Regions from separate parts of the Homo sapiens genome. Here region 1 is linked to region 2. The links are contacts of gene promoters, found by promoter capture Hi-C in blood cells and fetal thymus (Javierre and others, 2016). All regions are on one chromosome and are shown on one strand. The core of a region is centred on a gene start or on the middle of the fragment in contact, and the rest is flanking DNA. Distances in the headings are between cores, read along the strand shown.

Region 1 (3,200 bases), core at 268-2,767, 1.6 Mb after region 2:
GGAAAGAGGCCTCTTAAGCCTTCTTAATCCTGAAAATGGGGAGGAGGTCTTTTAAGCTGCAGTGCCAGAGTGACATGACCTAGTTTTCTATTTTTAGAGATGGGGTCTGGCTATGTTGCCCAGGCTGGTCTTGAATTCCTGGGCTCAAGCCAGCCTCCTGAGTTGCTGGGACTACAGACATGTGCCACCCCACCCAGCTTGACCTGGTTTTTGTGTTCAGAAGATATCTGTTGTTGTTCCAGGTGCCAAGGCCAGTGCTGGGCACAGGGGTGCTAGAGCCTACTGAGAAATGGACATAGAACCCCAGTGTCCATCCTTCCATCTTGGAGCCTGTGCTTCTCACCCCACACAGCCCTGCTGTCTGGGAGGACTGTCTGCCCCTTGAGGTCATCTGCCCCTGGCCACTGTGCCAGGACAGTCCTGCTGTGGGTACGAGCCACAGGGCAAGAAAGAACACATCTGGGAGCTGGAAGGCCTAATCCCAGGGAAAGCATGTAGCCTGGGGCAGGGCACCAAGGAGGCTTCCAGCCCCCACATTCTAAGGAAAGAAACACCAGGAAGGTGTGGCCTTAGGCAGGCCCCTTTTCCTTTTCGGATCACTGCCTGCCTGTCACTGATTTCTGTCCTAACCCCACACTAATAGCTGCTATATATATATATATGTATTTTAAGAGCTGGAGTCTCCCTAAGTCACTCAGGCTGGCCTTGAACTTCTGGGCTCAAGCGATCCTCCTGCCTTGGCCTCCCAAAGTGCTGAGATTACAGGTGTGAGCCACCACGCCCGGCAGCAACCATTTTTTAGCTTTAATGTGCACCAGCTCTGTAATCAAGTGCATCCTATATGTTCCTGCTAATTAACTCAACAGTCCTACAATGGTGGTTATTAATTGCTGTTTTACGAAAGAGGAAACTGGGGCTCTGAGAGTTTGGGGACCGACCCAAAGCATTCAGTGCCTGTGGATGCAACTGGGATGCAGGGAGCCAGTGGGCTGGGGGTGAGGTGTCCCGGCAGGTGGAGGTGGTGGGGTACTTACCTCCATGATGGCTGCTGCTGGTTGGCTGCTCCTGCTGGTGACTGGCGTCCCACAGGAGGCCTGGGGCCTGGCGATGATGCTTGCCGGAGCCTGAGGGCCCGTCCCCTGCGGGGCTGGGGCCCAGGCCCCTCTCTGCAGAGCTGGAGTCTTCCTGCTCACTCGGCTCAAACTCTGGGATCTGGAACATGCTCTGGGCTGTGAGGACAAGATGTTACGTAGTCAAGGCACAGCTGGGGCCAACGGTGGCCCTGGAAGGCAGAGGCAGGTACCCCTGGCTTCCTCTCCCACCGTAGCGCCCCCAGGCCCGCCAGGCCTCCTGGGCCCTCATCTGTCTGCCGGGTCTGGCCTGGCAGGGAGCTGAGGCTGTCGGCTCAGGACCTCAGTCTCCCCTCAGAACCCCGGTGGACCCAGGCCCCGCCCCGCCCGTGGTGACGGCGCACAGGTCTCACCCCAAGCCCGATCTCGAGGCCCCTGACCCGGGCCTGCCGCCTCCCTCCAGCACCCCGGGCTCCGGGCCCTAGTTGCTTGGGCAACGGGAACTGTCAGCGACCTGGCCCAATCACCTCTCGGAACGTCACTCGGGTAGGTCCAGAGGCGGGGTCAACCCGGCCCGGCCCCGCCCCCCCGCCGGATCCAAGGCTCCTCGTCCGCATCCTTTTTCCTCCCTCCTTCGGCCCCGGGGCTCACATCCTCGCTGCCTCACACCTTGGGCGTGTGTGGGAGCAGGAGAGGGATTCTCTGGGGTCCCCATTTGGAACCTGGAGACCCACTTCTGCCAACAAGTCCTTCAGCCCCTCTGGGCCTTAGTTTCCCCCCAGTGAAGTGGGGATAGTGACAGCTCCCCCGGGAGCCAGTGAAAACTTTGTGAAGGGAGTGATTACTGCGGGCGAAGGCGCTTGGCACAGCCACAACTGAAGCTCAGCCGTCGGATGTGATTATTGTTGCTATTGTTACCGCTCCGCCTGGACTGGGTGCCCGGTCGGAAAGTCCCGCTCCCCGCTCCTCCTCCCAGGCGCGGAAGCTTCGCGCCGCCCGCCTCGGGGGACACCTCCCGCGCCATCTCGGGGGCACTGGAGATAAGGAAAGGAACCTCCTCCCTGGCTGGGATGGCTGCCCGGGCGCGGGAGGAGGGCCGGGGACCCGGTGAGGGAGGACCGTAGGGCCCGTGGGGGCTTCACGCCTGGCAGGCGGCCGGCCAGGTGAGCAGGGCCGCGGGCGCGCCGGGGCGAGGGGCGGGCCCGCGCGGGGGATTCGGGGCTCCGCGGGTTCAGGCCCGGGGGCGGGGCCCGGGGGCCATCTTGGCTATGGGCGGAAGTTTTCTTCAGAGACCGAGGGACGGGAATCCGTTGCCGCCCCCGGCCGGGCGGCACGACCCCGATTTGGGTATAGGAGAGAGGAGCGTGGGAACTGGCGGACCCCCATACAAGTAAAGGCGGGCGGCACGGGGCACGGCCCACCCGGGGACCCCCTGGATGCGGCACGGCCCCCGCAACTCGGCCGCCCTCCTGCCGCCTCCCGTAACCCCGGGCGCCCGCCAGCGGCGCAGCTCGCGCCAATTCTCGTACGGTTTCACGCCGGGTGCGGCGCTGGACTGCGGAGCCAGCCGGGCCGCTGCGCAATTTGCGTAGCGAACGGCGCCCGCGCAGGCGCGGAGGGGGAGGGGGGCGGAGCAGCGGGAGCCGGGGAGCCGGAGCCCCGGGTCCCCACGACCTGAGCCGGCTCTCCCATCAGCGGCCTGAGGACCTGGCGTCCGCCTCCTCCCTCCCCTTGAGGCTGGAGCGTGGACGCGGTGGGGGAGGGTGGGGCGGGGGCAGCTTTCGAGAATTACGAGGACAGGAGGCAGAGGCCCTCCCCATCCGCATTATTGGAGGAGAGAGAGCCTCCCCCAGCTTGGGGAGGGGGAGAGCGGGGCATTGGGCGCCCCTCGCAGCGGCCGCTGCCCTGACCCGACGGGTATCAGCCGGCTCTCCCCCTCCACCCAGGACGACATGAACGACCGAGGCCAGGGAGTCCTCTCCTTGGGCCTCTGCATCCCCCCATCCTTGGCTCTGGGGTAGGCCCAGGGAGGAGACACCCCCAACCCCTATCCGGTCTGTCCTGGAGAAAAGAGACTGCCCTTCCATGCCCCTGAGTGAGGGGCCTGGGGCCCAGGCTGCCTGTGTTCCC
Region 2 (2,979 bases), core at 28-2,527:
CTCTTTGGCAGGAGCTGTTTTAATTGCTTTACATATAACTAATTTAATTATCCTAAAACTGTGAGACAAGTACTGTTGTTATAAGCTTCATTTTCTGATGCAGAAACCGGGGCACAAGAACTTGCCTATAATCAGTCACACAGCTAAGAGGTGTTTTCTTCTGTAAAGCAGAATTCAGTATGTTACACGAATCCAGCCTTTTAGTGGTTGAAAACAAAGCAAAACAGCCGGGCGCGGTGGCTCACACCTGTAATCCCAGCACTTTGGGAGGCCGAGGTGGGCGGATTGGGCGGATCACGAGGTCAGGAGTTCGAGACCAGCCTGACCTACATAGTGAAACTCTTTCTCTACTAAAAATACAAAAAATTAGCCGGCCGTGGTGGCGGGCGCCTGTAGTCCCAGCTACTCGGGAGGCTGAGGCAGGAGAATGGCGTGAACCCGGGAGGCAGAGCTTGCAGTGAGCCGAGATCACGCCACTGCACTCCAGCTGGGCAACAGAGTGAGACTCTGTCTCAAAAAGCAAAAAAGAAAACGAAGCAAAACAAAAAGCAATACCAGCCGGGCGTGGTGGTGCACGCCTGTAATCCCAGCTATCCGGGAGGTTGAGGCAGGAGGATCGCTTGGGCCCTGGAAGTCGAGGCTTCAGTGAGCCATGATCGCGCCACTGCACTCCAGCCCTGGGCGACAGAGCGAGACCTTGTCTCCAAAAACAAACAAAACCACGCCCACACACTAACAACAACAACAAAACCAAAAAAAAACCCAAACAATACCAAGTGTGTACCATGACGAGAAAAGGAATAGGTTGTTTGTAAAATAAATGTTAAAGATAAGTAACTATTACCCATTTCTCCAACCAGTATACTTGACTTTGAGTGTTTGTTCCAGAGTTGAGGGGATGGAGAGGGATGTGTATGTGTGTAGATGCCCTCCATGCGCTGTGTTGAAAACGCGCGGGTGACTGCAGGAAACCACAGAGCACAGCTCGGGCCTCTACTGATCGGGAAACGTCGGAAGACAGAAAAATGGGCAATCATAAAACCCACGGCAACCATGAAGACACGCACTCTCCCCCTAGCAATCCCACCCCGGAATTGAGGACACAGGGTCCCCGCGCTCAGCCCTTGGTGCCAGCACTTCTTGGACACCTCAACCCCCTCAGCTAAACCTGAGATCCAAGCGCTCCGGATTCCAAACGTTTCCTCGAGCAGGTCCTCTCTAGCCGGCCGCTTATCTATGGTTTCTGCTATAGGGCGCTCTAGCCTGCGCCAAGGGGTAGTGAGACCGCGCGGCAACAGCTTGCGGCTGCGGGGAGCTCCCGTGGGCGCTCCGCTGGCTGTGCAGGCGGCCATGGATTCCTTGCGGAAAATGCTGATCTCAGTCGCAATGCTGGGCGCAGGGGCTGGCGTGGGCTACGCGCTCCTCGTTATCGTGACCCCGGGAGAGCGGCGGAAGCAGGAAATGCTAAAGGTAGAAGCAACTGGTAGTCCCGAGGAAGGGTGGGCGGGTGGAGAGCCCCGGACTGGAGCTCCTGCGAACTCCCCTTCCTGCCCTCAGGAGATGCCACTGCAGGACCCAAGGAGCAGGGAGGAGGCGGCCAGGACCCAGCAGCTATTGCTGGCCACTCTGCAGGAGGCAGCGACCACGCAGGAGAACGTGGCCTGGAGGAAGAACTGGATGGTTGGCGGCGAAGGCGGCGCCGGCGGGAGGTCACCGTGAGACCGGACTTGCCTCCGTGGGCGCCGGACCTTGGCTTGGGCGCAGGAATCCGAGGCAGCCTTTCTCCTTCGTGGGCCCAGCGGAGAGTCCGGACCGAGATACCATGCCAGGACTCTCCGGGGTCCTGTGAGCTGCCGTCGGGTGAGCACGTTTCCCCCAAACCCTGGACTGACTGCTTTAAGGTCCGCAAGGCGGGCCAGGGCCGAGACGCGAGTCGGATGTGGTGAACTGAAAGAACCAATAAAATCATGTTCCTCCACCCAGAATGAGCCCTGCAGTCGACACCTACCAATGCTTAGAGACGCGTGGTCGGTGCTGGGGGCGCGGCCTGGAGCTGCTGCCTGTCCCACCCCACCAGAAGAGGCTGATCCCGATAGGTATCTGACCACATTTTTTTTTTTTTTTTTTTTTTGAGACGGAGTCAATGTCACCCAGGCTGGAGTGCAGTGGCACGATCTCGGCTCACTGCAACCTCCGCCCCTGGGTTCCAGCAATTCTCCTGCCTCAGCTTCCCGAGTAGCCGGGATCACAAGTGCGCGCCACCAAGCCCAGCTAACTTTTGTGTTTTTAGTTGAGACAGGGTTCACCATGTTGGCTAGACTGGTCTCGAACTCCAGACCCAGGTGATCCGCCCGCCTCGGCCTCCCAAAGGGCTGGGATTACAGGCGTGAACCACCTCGCCCTGCCGCGGCCACATTTTTTCTTTTTTTTGAGATGGAGTCTTGCTCTTGTCACCCAGGCAGGAGTGCAGTGGCGCAATCTTGGCTCACTGCAACCTCTGCCTCCTGGGTTCAAGCTGTTCTCCTTACTCAGCCTCCCATGTAGCTGGGATTACAGGCGTCCGCAACCACGCCCGGCTGATATTAGTAGTTTTAGTAGAGGCGGGTTTCACCATGTGGCCAGGCTGATCTCGAACTCCTGACCTCAGGCAGTTCACCCGTCTCAGCCTCCCAAAGTGCTGGGATTAGAGGCGTGAGCCACTGCGCCCGGCCAACCACATTTTCAAAACAGGTCATGTGGTGTCAGGTTGGAGTGTACTTCCAGGGATAACCGTGGGACATTCTTGAAATCTGAACTATCCTGGGAAGTCTTGAAGTAATGGATGCCTATAGTGGACACTCAGGACTCCTGTCCTTGGAGCGAGATTGGAGGGGCATCTAGCACTTAACATATGCCACAATGCTTTCTGTGGCCATTATTTAACCTCTGGTTAAACAAGCTTAGGAGGCTGACTTACTAGTAGTAAAAGGAGTGTGCTTT

What was found. Contacts are between HindIII fragments. The CHiCAGO score rates a contact against its expected background, and 5 or more counts as called.
Region 1: the fragment with the promoter of BAD here is called in contact with the fragment with the promoter of UQCC3 in region 2 in 1 of 17 cell types (activated CD4 T cells); the score reaches 5.8 in activated CD4 T cells.

Annotation. Positions count from the first base shown.
Region 1 is chr11:64,283,148-64,286,347 of GRCh38, forward strand. BAD (BCL2 associated agonist of cell death) reads right to left here and starts at 1,518. Exons shown (of 4, transcript NM_032989.3): 1 at 1,484-1,518; 2 at 1,035-1,229. The coding sequence starts at 1,221. It overlaps GPR137 (G protein-coupled receptor 137), which reads left to right and starts at 2,701. Exons shown (of 7, transcript NM_001170880.2): 1 at 2,701-3,200. RefSeq lists silencers at 1,398-1,687, 2,038-2,777. The HindIII fragment of the contact is 5,985 bases long and covers 1-2,053 here.
Region 2 is chr11:62,670,396-62,673,374 of GRCh38, forward strand. UQCC3 (ubiquinol-cytochrome c reductase complex assembly factor 3) reads left to right here and starts at 1,278. Exons shown (of 2, transcript NM_001085372.3): 1 at 1,278-1,470; 2 at 1,558-2,979. The coding sequence starts at 1,351. The coding sequence ends at 1,719. It overlaps LBHD1 (LBH domain containing 1), which reads right to left and starts at 1,872. Exons shown (of 7, transcript NM_024099.5): 1 at 1,169-1,872. RefSeq lists enhancers at 1-703, 704-1,443, 1,444-2,185, 1,552-1,711 and a silencer at 1,952-2,081. The HindIII fragment of the contact is 2,853 bases long and covers 84-2,936 here.